6 separate regions of the Homo sapiens genome follow, and regions 2, 3, 4, 5 and 6 are each linked to region 1. The links are contacts of gene promoters, found by promoter capture Hi-C in blood cells and fetal thymus (Javierre and others, 2016). All regions are on one chromosome and are shown on one strand. Each heading gives the region's core, a stretch centred on a gene start or on the middle of the fragment in contact. The rest is flanking DNA. Distances are from core to core; before and after follow the strand shown. Region 1 holds the start of USP29 (ubiquitin specific peptidase 29). Region 2 holds the start of NLRP9 (NLR family pyrin domain containing 9). Region 3 holds the start of ZSCAN22 (zinc finger and SCAN domain containing 22). Region 4 holds the start of NLRP8 (NLR family pyrin domain containing 8). Region 5 overlaps LOC124904784 (a long non-coding RNA gene). Region 6 overlaps ZNF329 (zinc finger protein 329).

What was found. Contacts are between HindIII fragments. The CHiCAGO score rates a contact against its expected background, and 5 or more counts as called.
Region 2: a contact is called between the fragment with the promoter of NLRP9 here and the fragment with the promoter of USP29 in region 1, in 1 of 17 cell types (M0 macrophages). The highest score is 7.5, in M0 macrophages.
Region 3: the fragment with the promoter of ZSCAN22 here is called in contact with the fragment with the promoter of USP29 in region 1 in 1 of 17 cell types (naive CD8 T cells); the score reaches 6.9 in naive CD8 T cells.
Region 4: the fragment with the promoter of NLRP8 here is called in contact with the fragment with the promoter of USP29 in region 1 in 10 of 17 cell types (M0 macrophages, total CD4 T cells, neutrophils and 7 more); the score reaches 19.8 in M0 macrophages.
Region 5: a fragment that was not itself captured here is called in contact with the fragment with the promoter of USP29 in region 1 in 2 of 17 cell types (fetal thymus and total B cells); the score reaches 6.0 in fetal thymus.
Region 6: a contact is called between a fragment that was not itself captured here and the fragment with the promoter of USP29 in region 1, in 1 of 17 cell types (total CD4 T cells). The highest score is 5.3, in total CD4 T cells.

Annotation. Positions count from the first base shown.
Region 1 is chr19:57,117,969-57,121,664 of GRCh38, forward strand. USP29 (ubiquitin specific peptidase 29) reads left to right here and starts at 2,017. Exons shown (of 4, transcript NM_020903.3): 1 at 2,017-2,261. The HindIII fragment of the contact is 8,956 bases long and covers 1-3,696 here.
Region 2 is chr19:55,736,438-55,740,133 of GRCh38, forward strand. It overlaps NLRP9 (NLR family pyrin domain containing 9), which reads right to left and starts at 1,965. Exons shown (of 9, transcript NM_176820.4): 1 at 1,658-1,965. The coding sequence starts at 1,937. It also overlaps the pseudogene RN7SKP109. The HindIII fragment of the contact is 10,494 bases long and covers 1-2,042 here.
Region 3 is chr19:58,325,174-58,328,869 of GRCh38, forward strand. It overlaps ZSCAN22 (zinc finger and SCAN domain containing 22), which reads left to right and starts at 1,821. Exons shown (of 3, transcript NM_181846.3): 1 at 1,821-1,941. LOC105372480 (a long non-coding RNA gene) reads right to left here and starts at 2,075. Exons shown (of 3, transcript NR_144444.1): 1 at 1,650-2,075; 2 at 1-188. RefSeq lists enhancers at 1,706-2,448, 1,792-2,121. The HindIII fragment of the contact is 13,061 bases long and covers 1-3,696 here.
Region 4 is chr19:55,945,961-55,949,656 of GRCh38, forward strand. It overlaps NLRP8 (NLR family pyrin domain containing 8), which reads left to right and starts at 1,872. Exons shown (of 10, transcript NM_001433706.1): 1 at 1,872-2,309. The coding sequence starts at 1,943. The HindIII fragment of the contact is 8,931 bases long and covers 1-3,696 here.
Region 5 is chr19:58,165,728-58,169,423 of GRCh38, forward strand. All of the region lies in intron 1 of LOC124904784 (a long non-coding RNA gene), which reads left to right. Among named protein-coding and RNA genes, the nearest start is that of ZNF274, 15 kb to the right of the region's middle. The HindIII fragment of the contact is 1,212 bases long and covers 1,301-2,512 here.
Region 6 is chr19:58,129,253-58,132,948 of GRCh38, forward strand. It overlaps ZNF329 (zinc finger protein 329), which reads right to left. Exons shown (of 4, transcript NM_024620.4): 4 at 1-259. The coding sequence starts at 251. Among named protein-coding and RNA genes, the nearest start is that of ZNF329, 20 kb to the right of the region's middle. The HindIII fragment of the contact is 2,632 bases long and covers 297-2,928 here.

The DNA.
Region 1 (3,696 bases), core at 767-3,266:
TTGTATAACTTCAGTGTCAAGAAGCCAGCGGTATTTTGCAGATAATGCAAGGTCTGTAGATCGAAAATTAAGTTGGGTGTCTTCCTTTAGTGTACAAACACCTTGGATGTTTGAGGAAATCCAAAGACAAGGTTCTAGGCATTTTATACGTGTTAACTCATGTATTATGTTAATTCTCACAATAATCCTTTGGAACTAGTACGATCACCATCCCTGCCTTATTGAGGAGGAAATGGGGTACAGAGAGCTTAAGCAACTTGCCAGTGTCATGCAGCAGGGAAGCGCTGGAGGCAGGGCTCCAACCCACGCAGCCTTGCTGCATGTTTGTGGAATGAACACAGGACTCAGGCACACAACCATCTGGCTGAGGCTCCATGAGCAGCCAGGAGCCTGGTCCCAATGCAGTCTCCTTATAGGCACAAATGGGGTGCCCCTTGAGACAGGAATAATAAAGGTGGTCACAGGAGAACGGAAAATTCCAGGCAACAGTTTCACATGACTAGCAAAGGAAACCGTTGAAATCGCTGCGTAAGCTAGGGGCGGATAAGACTCTGAAAACCAGGGTGTGGGCCAAGCTGGCTAAAGCCGACTGGACCCAACATGGTGCTGGATTCGACCCGTTTCACCTAGGACCTCTCATTATGTGCTCATTAACATACTAAGTCACACACCCACTGTGACAGCTCTGGGGAACACCCGTATTTAGTATAAAAATGTGTGGCACCGCAGTACCAAGAAATGTTTACCTTTTTCCAAGAATCTTCATGAATATTCCACCCCTTGGTTAAATAAATATTTAAAGGTAGCTCCAAACCCCGCTGGGCGTGATGCTCTGTGGTATGCCTGCACTTTTCTTTCTTCAGTACGTACTTATTCCCGTCGCAATGAATCTCCACACTTTGTTCTGCTCATCCATGAATTCCTTCTCACGACAGTGTCAAGAGCCTGGACACCAGTCAGGGTCGAGGCCTCACCAGCATCTTGGGGCCTCACTGGGCACAGACGCGTGAGCGCCCGGCCTGCAGACCTGACTCTGGCAGCCGCTCAGGCCCTCAGAGGGAGAGATGGAAGCTGGCAGGACGCAGTTGCTACCGCGCGGACCCGGCCCCCGACCAGCCTTGGCCCCTCGCGCGCCGGGACAGGGCCACAAATGACTGCACCTGGGCTTCGCTGGCCCAGGCACCACGCGACTCTAAGCGCGCCCAAAGCGACCCTCTGCGCAAACTACCCCCGGGGACGACGTCACCCGTGAGGTCCCGCGGCGCCTCCTCCTAAAGCTCGGCTGGGAAACCGTCCGCTTCCCCAAGACTTGGGGGCTTGTGGCCGAGTTGTTTTAGTTTTCCTGTAGGATTCACGGGTGGCTGAGGCAAACACGCTTGAAGGCCTAAGACTTTTAAGTCTCTTCCGCACCCTCTCTTCTGTCTCTTCCACCTGGAGGATGACCGCTTTTTTGGGGGTTTTGTTGTTGTTTTGAGACGGAGTCTCGCTCTGTCGCCCAGGCTGGATTGTAGTGGCGCCATCTCCGCTCACTGCAACCTCCGCCTCCCGGGTTCAAGCGATTCTCCTGCCTCAGCCTCCCGAGTAGCTGGGATTACAGGCGCCCACCACCATGCCCGGCTGATTTTTGTATTTTTAGTAGAGACGGGGTTTCGCCACGTTGGTCAGGCTAATATCAAACTCCTGACCTCAGGTGATCCGCCCTCCTCGGCCTCCCAAAGTGCTGGGATGACAGGCGTGAGCCACCGCGCCCGGCCGGGATGACTGTTATTAACAATTCCCGGCGTGGTTTCTAGCACCAGCCCACCTACCACACCCCACCTCGCTTGAGGCTGAATGGGTAACAGGATGAACCCGCCCCTGGGCTGGTTTTCTCTGAACCCTAACTCCTGCCGTTACGCCCCACCAGCTCTAGGCCAGGAACTCTATGTGCCCCGGCCACGCTAGAGCCCGTACCTAGACCCGTAGGTCGGGAGGCCTGCGCCCGGCACTGCGCAGACGCAGCGTGCTGTGCCCAGAACTCTTCTGTTCCCAGGAGAATCAGGGGAGTCGGCGCCGGAAGGGGCGGGTCCGAGCTGAGATTTCCAGAGCCATGGGAGCCGGAAGTCCAAGGAACTGTACCTCCATCATGACGACTCCGGTTACGTAAAAACATTCAAACAGAAAATGCTGGCCAGGCTCATGCCTGTAATCCCAGCACTTTGGGAGGCCGAGGCGGGAGGATCGCTTGTGCCCAGGAGTTGGAGACCAGCCTGGGCAACATAGTGAGACCCTCCCCCCACCCATCTCTACAAAAAATTTTAAAATTAGCTAGCTGAGATCATGCCACTGCACTCCAGCCTGGACAACAAAGTGAGACTATGTCTCAAAAAAATTTAAAAATTACCCACGCCTGTAGTGTCAGATAGTCAGGAGGCAGAGGTTGGAGGATGACTTGAGCCTTGGGGATCGAGGGTGTAGTGAGGTATGATCGCACCACTGCACTCCAGCCTGGGCAACAGAGCAAGACCCTGTCTCAAAAACTATATAAAAGAAAAAAGGGCTGGGTCGGTGGCTCACGCCTGTCATGCCAGCACTTTGGGAGGCCGAGGCGGGTAGATCACCTGAGGTCAGGAGTTTGAGACCAGCCTGACCAACAAGGTGAAACCCTGTCTCTACTAAAAATACAAAAATTAGCTGGCCATGATGGTGGGTGCCTGTAATCCCAGCTACTGGGGAGGCTGAGGCAGGAGAATCACTTGAACCCCAGAGGTGGAGGTTGCAGTGAGCCGAGATCACACCACTGCACTCCAGCCTGGGCGACAGAGCGAGAGACTCCGTCTCAAAAAAAAAAAAAAAAAAAAAAAAACAGAAAAAAGGCCGGGCACGGTGGCTCACTCCTGTAATTCCAGAACTTTGGGAGGCCAAGGCGGGCGGATCAGGAGTTCGAGACTGCCTGGGCAACATAGCGAAACCCCGTCTCTACTAAAAATACAAAAAATTAGCCAGGCGTGGTGGCGGGCTCCTGTAATCCCAGCTACTCAGGAGGCTTAGGCAGGAGAATCACTTGAACCCAGGAAGCAGAGGCTGCAGTGAGCCGAGATCACGCCATTAAACTCCAGCCTCGGTGACAGAGTGAGACTCCATCCCCGCTCCGCTCCCTCACCTCCCGCCAAAAAAAAAAAAGAAAATGCACTGCAATAGAAAAATAAAAGTACTACACTTTGGTCAAACAGGGTAACTACTAGAACGTAAAATGATCTTTTTGAAACTATCCACATTTGTTACACGTGTTGAAAATGTAGGATATATATGTTATATATATACTTATATATGTTATATATACTTATATATGTTATATACTTATATATGTTATGTACTTATATATTATATATACTTATATATGTTATATCTACTTATGTTATATACTTATATATGTTATATATACTTATATATGTTATACATACTTATATGTTATATATACTTATGTTATATACTTATATATGTTATATATACTTATACATGTTATACATACTTATATGTTATATATACTTATATATGTTATATATACTTATATATGCTATATATACTTATATATGCTATGTATACTTATATATGTTATATATATACTTATATGTATGTTATATATACTTATATATGTTATATATGCTTATATGTATGTTATATATGCTTATATGTTATATATACTTACATATGTTA
Region 2 (3,696 bases), core at 715-3,214, 1.4 Mb before region 1:
AGGACCTCAGTGTCCCAAGTGAGAAACTCTCAGTTCAGACACTGACTCGGTCATTTTTTCATCTGCCAACATAGAACATTAATCAGCAGAAAAGTCAAAGACACGAACCACACAGATAAAGAAAACTGGCACACACCTGTAATCACAGCACTTTGGGAAGCCCAGGCAGGAGGATCATCTGAGGTCAGGAGTTTGAGACCAGCCTGACCAACATGGTGATACCCCGTCTCTACTAAAAATACAAAAATTAGCTGGGCGTGGTGGTGCATGCCTGTAATCCCAGCTACTCGGGAAGCTGAGGAAGGAGAATCGCTTGAACCTGGGAGGCAGAAGTTGCAGTGAACCGAGATCATGTCACTGCCCTCCAACCTGGGCAACAGAGCAAGACTCCGTCTCAAAAAAATAAAACAAAAACAAAAAAAAAAACAAAAAACTAACACAGCAAGCAACTCCAAACCAAATAAAATACCCTCAAGCATGTGGGGATACGAAATAAGGTCTCAAATTAGAATTACCAACACAAAGAAGAAACATGAACAAAACAGAAGTAAACGTAACAGAAGTTGATGGAACTCAAAAGTAAAGGGAGAAGATAACAATCATCAGAAACAAATGCTAATTACTAGATACCTAATAGGGAATATATTTAGTTTTTCCTAAGTATCCCCCGAGAGGAGGGTGTAGACCCCATCAATGAGTCCAGCAGAACTGGTTCGGAGTCAGATCTGTCACTTTTGGAAAAGTCATGTAACACATGGGAACACTGTTTTGTCCAGTTTTCTCACTTGTAAACCTTTCCTGGGTTGTGATAAGAATGAAAAGACATTATGCAGAAAGAATGCTTCCAGGACGTGAGGACAACCTGGCTGTGATGTCTGTCACCCCATTGGTCGCCCCAGGGCTAATTCGGCTGATGTGGCCAGCTGGGTGGGTGTCCACTTCCTCCCTCACTGCTCCATATGCGTCCGTCCTGAAAGTCTCCCCTGGGTCAAAGACGATGACAACCTTTGCCCATAGAGGAAGGTCCTTCCATCGCGGGCAGAAGAGAAGCTGTGCTCCCCTACTAGAACCTCCAAACAAGCTCGCAAGAATGCTTCCTGTAGTACCCGGGACATACGCTGTCTGATTGTCTTAAGATTCTACCTACTCCTTGGTACATGTCTGGTCAAAAAGGACAGGCAGTTAGGCATGGTGGCTCACTCCTGTAATCACAGCACTTTGGGATGCCTAGGCAGGTGGATCACTTGAGCCTGGGAGTTCAAGACCAGCCTGAGCAACATGGCAAGACCCTTTCTCTAAAAAAAAAAAAAAAAAAAAAAAAAAGATAGGCAACTACCATACTAGAATTCCATCTCAGTAGACCTGGCAATGCAGACACTAACTGGCCACTCATCTCCTATAACAACGACTCCACTTGGGGTGGAAAAATGGGAAGACACTCCATAGGTGAACAGTTGGTATCAGGACGCCATCTGTCCCCAGTTCATCGCTGGCCCACATATGAACAGCCCTGGCCTGCAACTCTTCCTACCTTCAACTCTCACCTTGACCCACACACATTCTCATCTGATGGAGGGGGTGGCCACTCATTTAACAATGCTATCACCTTGTTCCCAGGCTTCCCCCATGGGTCCTCGCCCCATCATCCAGCACTTACTTCTCATCTCTTCCTGAGCCTTTGTCCAGAGATCTTTCCTATTGATCTGTAGAAACAGGTTCAGTGTTACCTCCCATGCCTGCTTTCCTGGGTAATGTTTGTCCAGCAGCTTTGCTACATCTTCTTTGGAGGCCTTCTTCAGCTCAGCCCAGGGGATTGGCTTGAGTTCAAATTTCTCCAAAGGTTGTTTGAGGAGCTCCTTAAATTTCCAAAACTCTTCCTTTCTGAGCTCCTTCAGATACCACAACAAGCCAAAATCCGAAAAAAAAGATTCTGCCATATCGCCCCAGGATTGTGAACTGAGGTGTCTCCAGAGGGAAAAGAAAGATCCTCAAAAATAAAGAATAAATGATACCTGGAGAAGAATGACATGATTACAGAGTTAAGCTTCAGCAGCTGAAAGCAGCTCAAAATTATTGATATCATCATGCGTAGCTTGCACCAAACATCATCTAGGGAAGAAGCTTCATCTTTTTCCAAACAAATGCATGTGAATGGTAGAGTTGACTGCCACTTATGTGTCTTGTTTTTGTCTGACATAAATGATGCTTCCAGGAACAAGTGTTTTTGTGTAGTTTGGTGTATATAAGCACACATTTCTCTAGATTTATAAATTATAGGTCAAACAGCAAACACAGGTCACCATGTTTGCTACATAACACTCAACGGTTTTCCCTTGTGTATATAATTACTGACATTCCTACCAGCATTCTATGAGTTTGTTTGCTCTGTAGACCTTCCCATCCTTAGTATAGTCTAATCCAATTTTGATAATGAAAAAATGAACGGATATTAAAATTACAGATGATCACATTCAGGAAGATGAAAATAAAGGAAGAGGACATAAAAGCAAATTTAAATTTTTTTTTATCGTTTAGTGGTATATGCCTTCTTTTTTTTTTTTTTTTTTGAGACAGAGTCTCGCTCTGATGCCCAGGCTGGAGTGCAGTAGCGCAATCTCGGCTCACTGCAAGCTCTGCCTCCCGGGTTCACGTCATTCTCCTGCCTCAGCCTCCTGAGTAGCTGGGACTACAGGTGCCTGCCACCACACCCGGCTAATTTTTTTGTATTTTTAGTAGAGATGGGGTTTTACTGTGTTCGCCAGGATGGTCTCGATCTCCTGACCTCGTGATCCACCCGCCTCGGCCTCCCAAAGTGCTGGGATTACAGGCATGAGCCACCGTGCCCGGCCGGTATATGCCTTCTTATTACAGTATATAAGGAAAAAGTTAGATTTACTATAGGTTAGCATCTGCAGACAACTCAGACAGAAACAGAGCAGTGAACGTTCCCAGTATTATAAACCCTTCAGATAATCATTGCAATTCAACAAAAGACAGGAAATGAAGTAGAAATATATGGTAGACAAAATAAGACAGGTGGCAAAAATAATACCAAATATATATAGATATGTATTTTGAGATAGAGTTTCACTCTTGTTGCCCAGACTAGAATGCAATGGTATGACCTCAGCTCACTGCAACCTCTGCCTCCCAGGTTCAAATGATTCTCCTGCCTCGTCCTCCCAAGTAGCTGGGATTACAGGCACCTGCCACCATGCCCGGCTAATTTTTTTTTTTTGTATTTTTAGTAGAGATGGGGTTTCACCATGTTGGCCAGGCTGGTCTCGAACTCCTGACCTCAGGTGATCCACCTGCCTCAGCCTCCCAAAGTGCTGGGATTATAGGCTTGAGCCACTGCGCCCAGCCTAAATATAATCTTAACACATATGAATGAAATAAAATTGCTCACTAATATATAGACTCACATTGGATAAATACAAATCCTGCTATATGCTGTTTATAAGAGAATCCTAGAAAATACACAGAGAAGTAAAACAGAAGAAGAAAAAGCCTGGCAAATTCTTACCCAAAAAAGTATTAATAGTATAAAATATCAGCATTGAAAAACACTCAAGCTAGAAAGCACTAAATGGACTAAGAATTTTTGAACACCAAGATTCAGTTCCCCAAGATCTAGAACTCATGAGCATATGTGCACCTGGGAATACCACTTTACACATAAGGAGATGATGACAA
Region 3 (3,696 bases), core at 571-3,070, 1.2 Mb after region 1:
TCCCTGAGTTCTTCGCTCTATTCAGGCCTCAGCTTAAATACCAACTTCTCAGAAAAATGACTTCTTTGTTTACCATCTGCCTCCCCACACAATAACATCACCTCCATAAAGGCAGGCCATGCTTATCATCATTGCAGTATCCAATCTGCAGTGGTGCTGGCTGCCTGTTGTGGGTGCTCAGTATTTATCTGTGGAAGGAAAAGAATATATGCTCATTCCAGCTGCTAGCAGTCTGCAGGGCAAAGTCTGAGAATAATAGGGGATGTGAGCACAGGCTGGGGCCAAGAAACACCACCAGCACCACCAAGCAATCATACACACCCTGCCTCAAAAAGGCCTCACCTGAACATAGGCTGGGCCACCAACCTCTATGTATCGGGCCCCAAGCCAGAGTCTCCTGCTCAATGTCTCTTACACATACACACACACACAGAGAAGATACATTCTCACACACAGTCCAGGCATCGACTGAATCACACAATCACACTACCATTCACAGTCACCGTAACAACATCACACACAGTCTAGGGCCTTTATACTGTGTCAGGTCCACCCCATTACCTCTAAGTATCTGTCTCAGACACAATTACACCTGGTGCAGGCAAACACAGCTGCATGATTATCACATATGATGATTAAATCACAGGTCACACACACGCAGAGTAAGCACACAGAACAACCCACAAACCTGGTCACAGAGTGACTCATGCAGACAGACGCCCAGCTCAAATTCAGTAAAAAATGATACACATTTATAAAAATGATTACATGTGTTCACAGAGAGCCACACATAGCTACACTCAATACACACCCTGACATAGGCAACCACACCGCTCACCTCTCACAAAGGCACCTTCAGTACTTACACAGACACTCACACCCACAAGCCCTCAGACAGGCACCCTCTCCCCTCACTCCTAACATGGGCACCCTCACCTCTCACCCAGGTACCCTTGTTACTGGTGGAGGGTGTCCAGGTTCTTGGCATCTTGAACAAATAATTGGACAAAATGCACAAAGAAAAGAATGAAGCAACAAAAGCAGAGATGTATTGAAAATGAAAGTACACTCCACTGTATGGGAGCAGGCCGGAGCATAGGGGCTCAAGAGCCCGGTTACAGAATTTTCTGGGGTTTAAATACCCTCTAGAGGTTTCCATTGGTTACTTGGTATATGCCCTATGTAAATGAAGAGGACGAAGTAAAGTTACAAAGTGATTTACTCCATGTACGCCCTGCATAAATGGAGAGGATATTTCCTACCATAGCTGCAGTTTCCATTTGATTTACTTCTAGGAAGTCCTTAGGTTCCCTGCCTCCAGACCCGATTTTCTTGCCTCACCCTTACCCCTCACCCCTCACACAAACACCCTCAGCCCTCCCAAAGCCACCCTCAGCCTCACACAGCCGCCCTCACCCTCAGCCTCACACAGGCACCCTCAGCTCTCACACAGGCACCCTCAGCCCTCACACAGCCGCCCTCACCCTCAGCCTCACACAGGCACCCTCAGCCTCACACAGGCACCCTCAGCTCTCACACAGGCACCCTCAGCCCTCAGCCCTCACACAGCCGCCCTCACCCTCACCCTCACACAGGCACCCTCAGCCTCACACAGGCACTCTCACCCTCAGCCTTCACATTTCCCTCACCTCCAAGTCCCGCCTTTCGCGCATCGCCTGCTGCTCTCCCACTCAGCGCCACCTCAGTCCCACAAAGGCCGGGCTGGGATCCTGTGGCCTCCGTGCTGACCAACGTCAACTACAATTCCCAGCAGGCACCGCGCCTGGGTACACTTGAGCTTCCGGAGGACGCCGGGAATTGTAGTCCTGGCGGGCGTGGGCCCTTGAGGTGTGCTGGGAGCTGTGGTCCGGGTCGGCGGGCGCGCAAGTTGGCTAGTCTCTGCGGCCACCTCCGGAAGGGTCCGCCGGCTGTGCTGGTGAGGTGGGTTTCGGGGGTGTTCTCCGTCCTGATCCAGGCTGGAGAGGGGCACAGCAGGTCCAGAAGCCGCGAACCTCTGGGGCGGCCAGAGCGAGATGCGGGGTACCGCCCAGCGGGTAGAGAGTGAGAGGCTGACTAGGGGACGTGAGTAGACGGACTGCGAGTGCCGGACACACGCGCAGAGGATGTGACGGACTGACGGACCAGGCGTGGACGGACCGTGTGTGCACGGACTGACGGACCCGGTGTGGACAGACTCACGGACCGAATGTGGTGCGGAATGACACACTGAGTGCCGGACGGACCGACGGAGAATGTGTCGGACTGACGGAGTGTGTGTCGGATGGACTGATTGACCGGGTGTGGGGCGGACGAAGTGTGGAGCGGGCGGACAGATAACAGATAAAATGTAGGACCAGTGGCCTGGGAGGGTGTGGGGCGGACCCGTTTATGTGTCTGATAGGCGGTTCTGTGTCTGACACCTCTTGGGTGTGTGTATCTGACGGGTTGGAGTGTGTGATTCTGATAGGTTGAGTGTAACACTAACCATGGAGTGTGTGACTGACAGAGATGGTTGCCGTTTGAGACTTCCTACGTGGGTTGTGAGATACTGTGAGAGGGTGAGCGTGTGACGGTGGGATTTCAAGTGTGACTGATTTTCTTTGTGTGTCCTTGAGATGGTGACTAAGATTATGAATGACTGTGATCAGAATAATACTGTGTGATGGAAATGCTGCGAGGGCCTGTGTTTATTTTTGAGACGGAGTCTTGCTCTGTTGCCCAGGCTGGAGTGCAGTGGCGCAATCTCGGCTCACTGCAACCTCCATCTCCCGGGTTCAAGCGATTATCCTGCGTCAGCCTCCCGAGTAGCTGGGATTACAGGCACCGGCCACCACACTTGGCTAATTTTTGTATTTTTGGTAGAGACGGGCTTTCACCATGTTGGTTAGGCTGGCCCGGAACTCCTGACCTCAGGTGATCCACCTGCCTAGGCCTCCCAAAGTGCTGGGATTATAGGCATGAGCCACCATGCCTGGCCAGGCCTGTGTTTATTTGACTGATTATAGGTGACATTGAGATATTTCCTGTGTCTGGGTATTTTGAAGGCTGTGGCTGACAGACTGTACCTGAGATAATATGTGTTAATATCTGATTGACTGAGATTTTTATCAGGGAGACTAAAACTTGGGTGATCCACAAACAGTTTACCAAGCATATGAGAGAGGATTTGTGCTTTGCCATGTCTGCAGCTGAAACTGAGTGACTAGTGGTCATTCAGCTGGGCTTATGGATATGTCCCCCAGTGTTTGCTTACGTGTAGCAGGGGGCTATGGTATCCATACATCTACTGCATGTTTACTGTGCACCAGGCCTGTGCTGGACACTTATAATAAATCACCTCACATAATCTCATAGCAACCCTCTGAGGTAGGTACCATTATCAGGCTTGGTATAATCCATGTGTGAGAAATGAAAAGAACCACCCTCCTTGGTTGGTAAAGCAGCTGTGGATGGGGAACCTCAACCTGATAGGAGTTGAGGTTGGCTGAGGAGGCTGAGGAAGTTTCACATACATGTATTTCAGAGACCGTCATGAGGGATTTCTCCAGAACAGGTGTTCCAGGGGTGCAAAAGAGAACTTGGAAGCTGTTGCAGCATCTATTGTCATCCCTGCCACCCTTGCTCCTCCTTCCCCTCATGATTCCCTACATTCTTGGGTAACCATGCTCAGCCTTTACTGGTCATTCCATTTGCTTA
Region 4 (3,696 bases), core at 622-3,121, 1.2 Mb before region 1:
AAAATGTGTGACTGTGTTAGGCTCCTCCATGCAGCGCCACCCACTGGACGGAAGGAGCACTAGCAAGAGTCAGCCACCCAGGAGCATATCACCTTTGTCCTGGGACCAAGCCCAGCTACTCTGGACCCAAGGGAGGACTGAGTCAATTAAACAAGTTTATCCAGATGTTTGGGTGTCACATAAGTTATAAGAGGGAGAAGTGTTAAAGAAGAAGCTATTGGCCAGGTGCAGTGGCTCACACCTGTAATCCCAGCACTTTGGGAGGCTGAGGTGGGTGGATCACTTGAGGTCAGGAGTTTGAGACCAGCCTGGCCAACATAGTGAAACCCCATCTATACTAAAAATACAAAAAAATTAGCCAGGCATGGTGGCAGGTGCCTGTAATCCCAGCTACTCAGGGGGCTGAGGCAAGGGAATTGCTTGAACCAGGGAAGTGGAGGTTGCAGTGAGCCGAGATCACACCACTGCACTCCAGCCTGGGAAACAGAGTGAGACTCTGTCTCTAAGTAAATAAATAAATAATAAATAAATAAACTATTATTGGAAGTTGGGGCAGGGGGGACAAAAATACACCCATGATCCTTTTTATTTTATTTCTTTTTTACATTTCTTTTAGATACAGGGGTACATGTGCAGGTTTGTTATATAGGCAAACGTGTTATGGGGGTGGGTTTGTTGTACAGGTTATCTCATCACCCAGGTATTAATCCCAGTACCCATTAGTTATTTTTCCTGATCTTCTCCCTCCTCCCACCCTCCAGCCTCTAGCAGACTCCAGTGTGTGGTGTTCCCTCTATGTGTCCATGTGTTCTCATCGTTTAGCTACCACTTATAAATGAGCACATGTGGTATTTGGTTTCCTGTTCCTGTGTTAGTTTGCTAAGGAATAATGGTCTCTGGCTCCATCTATGTTCCTGCAAAGGTCATGATCTCATTCTTTTTTATGGCTGCATAGTATTCCATGGTGTTTATGTACCACATTTTTTTATCCGGTCTATCACTGATGGGCATTTAGGTTGATTCCATGACTTTGCTATTGTGAGTAGTGCTGCAATGAACATACACAGGAATGTGTCTTTATAATAGAATGATTTATATTCCTTTGGATATATATCCAGTAATGGGATTGCTGAGTTGAATGGTAGTTCTCTTTTTAGGTCTTTGAGGAGTTGCCCCACTGTCATCCAGAGTAGTTGAACTAATTTACACTCCCACACACAGAGTATAAGTGTTCCTTTTTCTCTGCGACTTCACCAGCATCTGTTATTGCTTGACTTTTTAATAATCACCATTCTGACTGGTGTGAGATGACATCTCGTTGTGGTTTTGATTTGCATCTCTCTAATACATGATCCATTTTTTAAGAATACAGCATCTGTTATTGCTTGACTTTTTAATAATCACCATTCTGACTGGTGTGAGATGACATCTCGTTGTGGTTTTGATTTGCATCTCTCTAATACATGATCCATTTTTTTAAGAATAAAAACTTTGTTGAATTTGAGATCACTTTTAATCTAATGGAGCCTTCTAACCAACCATATATTTTCTAGATTTTAGCTTCACTGAATTATTTTACCTGCTTCTAATTTTTCTTTTCGCTAAACCTTTTGTGAAGGCTTTGATATTTTGCTTGCCTCTTCCCCAAAAGAAGTCATGGAGAATAGAAACTACAAACAATCCATTAGTCTAATGGACTAATCCCAAACATTCCATGCATCTTCAGTTTTTCCATAGGGCAGAGAATCTTTGAGGAAAGGAGGTAAAGGGAGTACCCGGCACGCAGAATACCTGCCAAGTAAGCATTACACGAATCTGTTTTCTTGGGTAGTGTTTTCATCTTCTTGTTTTATTGTTTTATGTCTCTGCAGGTCTCGTGTTTCTCTCTTCCAATCGGTTGTCTTTATCGTGGACACTGAGGTGTTCTCTGCCTTGACTAAAGATGAGTGACGTGAATCCACCCTCTGACACCCCCATTCCCTTTTCATCCTCCTCCACTCACAGTTCTCATATTCCGCCCTGGACATTCTCTTGCTACCCCGGCTCCCCATGTGAAAATGGGGTCATGCTGTACATGAGAAACGTGAGCCATGAGGAGCTACAACGGTTCAAGCAGCTCTTACTGACTGAGCTCAGTACTGGCACCATGCCCATCACCTGGGACCAGGTCGAGACAGCCAGCTGGGCAGAGGTGGTTCATCTCTTGATAGAGCGTTTCCCTGGACGACGCGCTTGGGATGTGACTTCGAACATCTTTGCCATTATGAACTGTGATAAAATGTGTGTTGTAGTCCGCAGAGAGATAAATGGTGAGTGTTGATCTGGTGGATAAAGTGGGGGTGGGCTTGGCTGCTGGGCAGCTAAACTACTCTAGTCACCACCCCTATCACTTATTGGCCTTCTGAGCAAGAAAGCAAACAGTGGAGGAAGATAATGGATCTAACCCAAAGGCAAAGACTGTCATACGGGCATTTTTTTAATTTTATTTTTCTGAGATGGGGTTTCGCTCTTCTTGCCCAGGCTGAAGTGCAATGGCACAATCTCGGCTCACTGCAAACCCCGCCTCCCAGGTACAGGTGATTCTCCTGCCTCAGCCTCCTGAGTAGCTGGGATTACAGGCACCCACCACCATGCCTGGGTAATTTTTTTTTATTTTTAGTAGAGACGGGGTTTCACCATGTTGGCCAGGCTGGTCTCGAACTACTGACCTCAGGTAATCCGCCTGCCTTGGCCCCCCAAAGTGCTGGGATTGCAGGTGTGAGCCACTGTGCCCAGCCCATATGGGCCTATTTTTTAAAAACTTAACTGAATACTGCTTATATGAGGTGAACGTTAAATGAAGTCATAGAGAAGTAGGAAGTAAAATAGTGGAAAAGCATATGCTATGGAAACAGCAGAAGACAGCTGGTATAGCTATGGTGATGTCAGGAGTGCTATATTTAAAGCAAGAAGGTTAAACACTTTAAAAGGCCATTTCGCAGCAACAAAGGGTGAATCCCACTGGAGGATATTGTAATCCAAAACCTCATCTTCAATATGAATAAAGCAGAGCTGGACTACAGTCATCCCCTTATCCAAGGTTTTGCTTTCTGAAGTTTGGGTTGATCATGGCCAAAAATAGATGAGTACAGTACACTGAGATATTCTGAGACAGAGAGAGACCACATTTACATACCGTTTATGATAGTATAGTATTATAATTGTTCTATTTCATTATTATTGTTAATCTCTTACTGTACCTAATTTATAATTTAAACTTTTATCATAGATCGGTATGTATTTTTTTTCTATTTTGAGATGGAGTCTTCATTCTGTCACACAGGCTGGAGTGCAGTGGTGTGATCTCAGCTCACTGCAACCTCCACCTCCCAGGTTCAAGCAATTCTCATGCCTCAGCCTCCCCAGTAGCTGGGATTACAGGTGCGCACCACCACACCCAGCTAATTTTTGTATTTTTAGTAGAAACGGGGTTTCACCATGTTGGCCAGGCTGGTTTCAAACTCCTGACCTTAGGTGATTTGCCTGCCTCGGCCTCCCAAAGTGCTGGAATTACAGGTGTGAGCCACCACACCCGGCCTAGATATGTATTTAAAAAAATCAGTATCCACATTGTTCAGTACTATCCACAGTTTCAGATATCCACCGGGGATCTTGGAACATAGACCCTGCAGAGAAGGGGGGACTACTGTATTAAAG
Region 5 (3,696 bases), core at 657-3,156, 1.0 Mb after region 1:
ATTCTGTCACCCAGGCTGGAGTGCAATGGCATGATCTTGGCTCACTGCGACCTTCACCTCCTGGGTTCAAGCAATTCTCTGCCTCGGCCTCTCAAGTAGCTGGGATTCAGGCACCCGCCACCACACCTGGCTAATTTTTGTATTTTTAGTAGAGACAGGGGTGTCGCCATCTTGGCCAGGCTGGTCTTGAACTCCTGACCTTGTGATCCACCCACGTTGGCCTCTCAAAATGTTGGGACTACAGGCGTGAGCCACCGTGCCTGGCCCACTAAACAATATTCTTATCAATGAATACCACTACATACATGACTCATTGTAAAACAACATTCAGATTTAATAAACCATAAATGCACAGGGAAAAACCCCTGAAAATTATGATTTTGGGAATGCTTTTGGTCAAAACACTCAACTTCTTAGACTTGCAAACAGTTCAGTGTAGAAAAGCCTTATATATGAAATATACGTAGTAAATTTTTTAAGTGTAGCACAAGTCTCAGTCAATGTAAGCGAATTCATGTTAGAGAGAGTTGAGTTGAATGTAAGGAATGTGGAAAAGTGTATTCAGAGCTCCTCTCATCTTTGTTTTGAGAGCACTCACACAGTTGACAAACCCTCCAGATGTTCTGAATGTGAGAAATCCCTGTTTATGGTAAATACTTTCTGACATCAGAGAAGTCATACTGGAGAGAGACCATATAAATGTAGTATGTGTAAAGAAGTCTTTAAACAGAGCTCAACCCCACTGATGTATGAGCAAACTCTCTCAGGAAATAGACCTTACAAATGTGTTGAGTGTTGGAGAGTCTTTATTAAGAAATATTTCTTTCAGTATGTTTCAGAACTTATACAGGAGAACAATACTATAAATGTAATCGCTGTAGCAAAGGCTGTAGACACAAATTATACCTTATTCAATATGAGACAATTTATACTTGTGGGAAATTATATATTTGCAGTGAATTTAGGAAATTCTTCTAAAGAAGTGAACACTTTTACCCTATAGCTAAGAATCTATAGAGACACCTTATGAAGGGAATCATTCAGGGAAAGGTTTTACACTTTGCTCCTCCACTACTCAAAAATCACAGAAGACACACTGGAGAGCAAAGTGATGGATACAGTCATCGTGGGAAAGGCTTCAGACGTAGCCTAGCCCTTATGATGTGACATCAGAGGACTCATACTGAGGAAAACCCCATACATGTAATTTGCGTGGAAGAGCATTCAGGAGTTGTTCTCATATTATTGAACGTAAGAGGACTCATACTGGAGAACACTATGAATGCAGTCAGTATTGGCAAGCTTTCAACCATGGCTTTTACCTTATTTGACACCAGGAAATTCAAACAAATTAGAAAAACTCATTGAAAAAAGATCAATGTGGAAAAGCTATTGGTTGGAATTCCATTTTATTTGACATCAGGGATAAAGGAGGCAAAAGCCACCAGTTATTTTTTAACTCTTAAGTATCTGAATGTAACAAGACTGCAAACTTGTGACTCCCTGCAGCCACAGATCAGCAGGGATAAGCAGTTCTATTCTACATATGTCCCTAATTTGCCATAGAAACACCATTTAATGGGGACTCAGGGTCTAGGCCTGATGAACAATGTCTCATAGAAATGTCTGGCCATATGCGGCTGGGCACAGTGGCTCACGCCTGTAATCCCAGCACTTTGGGAGTCCGAGGCGGGTGGATCACGAGGTCAGGAGATCAAGACCATCCTGGCTAGCACCGTGAAACCCCGTCTCTACTAAAAATACAAAAAAAAAAAATTAGCTGGGTGTGGTGGTGGGCGCCTGGAGTCCCAGCTACTCAGGAGGCTGAGGCAGGAGAATGGTGTGAACCCAGGAGGCAGAGCTTGCTGTAAGCCGAGATCGTGCCACTGCACTCCAGCCTGGGTGACAGAGCAAGACTCCGTCTCAAAAAAAACAAGAAAAAAAGAAAAAGAAAAAGAAATGTCTCCCATATGCCTGTAATCCCAGCTACACAGGAGGCTGAGGCAGGAGAATAGCTGAACCCAGGAGGTGGAGGTTGCAGTGAACCAAGATCACACCACTGCCCTCCAGCCCGGGCAACAGAGCAAAACTCCATCTCAAAAAAAAAAAAAAAAATGGTTGCCATAGATAATCATGGCTGGGCACAGAGGCTCACACCTGTAATCCCAGCACTTTTGGAGGGCAAGGCAGGTGGATCACTTGAGCTCAGGAGTCCAAGACCAGCCTGTGCAACATGGAGAAACCCCGTCTCTAATAAAAATACAAAAATTAGCTGTGCGTGGTGGTGCATTCCTGTAGTCCCAGCTACTTGGGAAGTGAGGACTGCTTGAGGGGGTCAAGGCTACAGTGAGCTGAGATGGTACCACTGCACTCCAGCCTGGGTGACTAAACGAGACCCTGTCTAAAAGAAAAGAAAAGAAGAGAAATGGTTGTCATAGGTAATCACATGTAAATTTTTTTTTTTTTAAAGAGTGAGCAACAGTAAGATTTATTGCAAAGAGCGAAAGAACAAAGCTTCCACAGTGTGGAAGGGGACCCAAGCGGGTTGCCCATAAATGTTATCAGTGGCAACAGCGTATCTGTTTTTCTACATCACGTATGAATAAAAGAACCGTCAACCTTGAAGAATGGTGCAGGAATCATATGGCAACAGCGTATCTATTTTTCTACATCACGTATGAATAAAAGAACCGTCAACCTTGAAGAATGGTGCAGGAATCATACACCTTTTAGCATCATGGGGATCCTTATGTGTATAATTTTATGATAGTCCTAGATGAGGGCTGAAGGATATGCTATCAATTTTTTTCTGCATAATCCAAATATTATCACTCCAAACAAATCAGAGAGCTTTATACTAACTTGCTAATACTTTGCCAATAGCATTCTTCTATCTACTTGAATAGAAGCATCATAAAGAGTTGTATGTTGGCCAGGCACGGTGACTCACACCTGTAATCCCAGCATTTTGGGAGGCCGAGGCAGGAGGATCACCTGAGGTCAGGAGTTTGAGACAAGCCTGGCCAACATGGTGAAACCCTGTCTCTAGTAAAAATAGAAAAATTAGCTGAGTGTGGTGGCACATGCCTGTAATCCCAGCTACTTGGGAGGCTAAGGCAGGAGAATCAGTTGATCCCGGGAGGTAGAGGTTGCAGTGAGCCAAGGTTGTGCCATTGCACTCCAGCCTGGGTGACAAGAGCAAAACTCCATCTCAAAAAAATAAAAAAAATGAGTTGTACGTATCTTCACATTTCTAAGGGCATGTCCAATGTCTTGGCAGGGTTAAAAAGACATCATAGTCTGGTGAAGTACCCATACTCCAAAACTAGTGCAAACTTCACAAGTTTCATTGCAAATCCCTTACAAAGAGCACAGGGTATGTATAAGCAGCATTGGTTTCTCTTCTGAAACCCTGGACACTAGAAGATAAGTGAAGATTCCAGAAACACAAAGACTCTGATTTCAGGATTTGATGCTCAGCAAATATATCATTCACACATATGAGGAGAGAGTAAGCATTTTCAGACCTGTTAGCATTCAAAATTTGTATTCTTTCTGGAAAAACTGCCCAAGAGAACATAATAGTAATTTCTTACAATGGAAGTATGAGCCATGTCCCCAAAAGACATCTAAAAGGACACTCATAGAAGCATTAGTCATAAGGGGCCAAAACTGGATACAGCCCAGCAGTCCATC
Region 6 (3,696 bases), core at 363-2,862, 1.0 Mb after region 1:
CTCTGAGACGGTGGAAGGTCTGAGCTTGCAATCAAATGCTCCCCAAAACCAGGATATTCACAAATTGCTTCCTGAGTCCCTGGTTTCTCCAGAGTTAAAGCTGATTGCCTCAAGTGTCCCTCCTGGTTCTCACAGTCCCAACCATCACCTAAACTGGACAAGCAGGGAACTTCCCTTGTGAATCTTTCCACTTCTACATCACAGGGTACTTCTCTCTCAGGAAAATTCCGAGTCGTCATTTTCAATCTCATATCCCAAACTGCAAAAAGAAGAAAAATGCAGACTTAGGTATATGAAGCTTTATCTGTAAGAGAAACAGACAATGATGATGGGCTAGGTGTAAAGATGTGTATTTTTTTACTTGTTTTCTCTTTTAAATTCAAATTTATACAAGGAAGAGGTAAAATCGTAGCCAAGGAATGGAACCAAGAACAGATTCAAAAAGAGCCATGTAGCATTTTCATCTTCCTAGAGAGCAGGCAGGAGGAATGGACCTCGGGATAAATCATCACCAAAAGGATTAGTTTGAGATGTGAGAGACCAGAGGCCAAGCATCCCTGCTCCCCCTAGAATTCCATCCCAGCCACTGCATTCTTGTCCCTGTCACACACTGCCCATCAGTACACATTTCCAAAGCTCTGACTTCACAATGAGCTTACAACAGCACTGAAGGAACAGTTCTCACCCCAGCTCTGTCATCAAAGTTCTGCATTCATGGATAGGACAAAGCACAGGCTTGGTGACCTAAAAGTTCTGGGTCTAAGTCTTAGAACTGTCAATGACCTGGCGGGGCACAGTGGTTCACTCCTGTAATCCCAGCACTTTGGGAAGTGGAGGCAGGTGGATCATTTGAAGTCAGGAGTTCAAGACCAGCCTGACCAACATGGTGAAACACCGTCTCTACTAAAAATACAAAAAAAATCAGCCAGGCGTGGTGGCACATGCCTGTAGTCCCAGCTACTCTGGAGGCTGAGGCAGGAGAATCACTTCAACCTGGTAGGCAGAGGTTGCAGTGAGCTGAGATCACACCACTGCACTCCAGCCTACGCGGCAGAGTGAGACTCCATCTCAAAAAACAAAACAAAACAAAAACTGTCAAAGACTGCCCTGCATGGTTGTTATAAAAACTGGATCATGTCGGCCAGGCGCGGTGGTCACGCCTGTAATCCCAGCACTTTGGGAGGCCGAGGTGGGCAGATCACAAGGTCAGGAGATTGAGACCATCCTGGCTAACGTGGTGAAACCCCGTCTCTACTAAAAAAATACAAACAATTAGCCAGGCGTGGTGGCGGGCGCCTGTAGTCCCAGCTACTCGGGAGGCTGAGGCAGGAGAATGGCGCGAACCCGGGAGGCGGAGCTTGCAGTGAGCCAAGATCGTGCCACTGCACTCCAGCCTGGGCCACAGAGCAAGACTCCGTCTCAAAAAAAAAAAAAAAAAAAAACTGGATCATGTACAAAGCAGTCTCCAAGGCTAGGGGATGAAGGGCATTCTGTAAATGGTTGCATGTGTCTTCATGCATATCAATCTTCCTGTCACCATCCTTGTCCATTCAGACTTCACAATATTAAGACAACTGGTTGTCCATTCATTCGTTCATTCATTTGGTGGGATCGGGTCTCGCTCTGTCATTCAGGCTGAAGTGCAGTGGTGTGATCTTGGTTCACTGAAGCCTCAATCTCAAAAACTTCAAGCAATTATCCCACCTCAGCCTCCCAAAATGCTGCAAATACAGGGATGAGCCATTGTGCCCAGCCTTCTTTCTATTTTTTAAGGTAAAATGAAAATAGACCCTTGCCTCAGAATACATACATACATATATGTCTACATTCTAGGCAATTTAAATATATATACATGTATATGTGTATATGTGTGTGTGTGTGTGTGTGTGCGCGTGTATTTACATTTCAGAAGGATACAGGCTGCAACATAAAGTCAAAGTTTAAATAATGTAGTATGCCTTCATAAGTGTGGCAGACTTTGATCAACAAAACTTAACCAAAAAACCATATGGCCAAGCATTGGGGGTCATGCCTGTAATCCCAGCACTCTGGGAGGCTGAAGTGGGAGTTATCACTTGAGCCCACACAGAAGGCTGAGGCTGCAGTGAGCTGTAATTGTGCCACTGCATTCCAGATTGGGCAAAAGAGACCATGTCTTAAAAACAAAAAACAAAAACCAAAAAATAAAAAACAGACAAGGATTAAGAAGTCTGATATCAGCATTCAAATTTTCCATCCAATAAAAGACACAATAAGAGACAAAATGCAAGTGGCAGATAGGGAGAAAATAGGACTTAAAAGCACAAAGAATTATTGCCCAAGAGCTATAGAGGATTCTTACAGAGAGAAAATAAGATTTAAAAGCACAAAGAATTACTGCCCAAGAACTACAGAGGATTCTTACAGAACAGCACATAAAAAGAAAAAAAATGGGCAAAGTAATCAAAGAGCACTTCGTGAAGGGAAAATAGAAATGTCCTGAAAACATTGGCTGGGAGCAGTGGGTCACGCCTGTAATCCCAGCACTTTGGGAGGCTGAGGCAGGTGGACCACAAGGTCAGGAGATCGAGACCATCCTGGCTGACACGGTGAAACCCCGTCTCTATTAAAAATACAAAAAATTAGCCAGGCGTGGTGGCGGGCGCCTGTAGTCCCAGCTACTTGGGAGGCTGAGGCAGGAGAATGGCATGAACCCGGGAGGCAGAGCTTGCAGTGAGCCGCGATAGCGCCACTGCACTCCAGCCTGGGCAACAGGGCGAGACTCTGCCTCAAAAAAAAAAAAAAAAGAAAGAAAAAAAAGAAATGTCCTGAAAACATCAATATTTATTTTCTCATTCTATCATTCAGGCAATTCCAAACTGCGACTTTAAGAACACAAAATATACACATTTCACGTGAGTAAAAATAAAATGAAGTACAATAATATAAAGCTTTGGTAGGTCACAAGGGAAGAGGGCTTGGAAAGTGGTCAGCGTGCTTGGCAGGGTACCTTAGTGGCAGCTGTGAAAACATAAACTGGGGGCAGGCGCGGTGGCTCACGCCTATAATTCCAGCAGTTTGGGAGGCTGAGGTGGGTGGATCACCTGAGCTCAGGAGTTCGAGACCAGCCTGACTAACATGGTGAAACCCCACCTCCACTAAAAATACAAAAATTAAGCCAGGCACAGTGGCTCACGCCTGTAATCCCAGCACTTTGGGAGGCTGAGGCAGGTGGATCACCTAAGGTCAGGAGTTCAAGACCAGCCTGGGCAACTATGTCTCTACTAAAAATACAAAAATTAGCTGGACGCGGTGGCGCATGCATGTAATCCCAGCTACTCGGGAGGCTGAGGTAGGAGAATCGCTTGAGCCTAGGAGGCAGAGGTTGCAGTGAGACAAGATTATACCATTGCACTCCAGCCTGGGGGACAGAGCGAGACTCCGTCTGAAAAAAAAAAAAAAAAAAGAAAACATAAATTAGGTATATTCTACCACCCAGCAGTTCCACTGGTAGGTATCTCAGAGTCAGAAAGCTGGATAAACGAACATCAATCCATACCTACGTAGATAGATGGTCTTTTTCTTTTTTCTTTTTTTTTGAGACAGAGTCTTGCACTGTCACCCAGGCTGGAGTGCAGTGGTGCGATCTCAGCTCACAGCAAGCTCCGCCTCCCAGGTTCACGCCATTCTCCTGCCTCAGCCTCCCCAGTAGCTGGG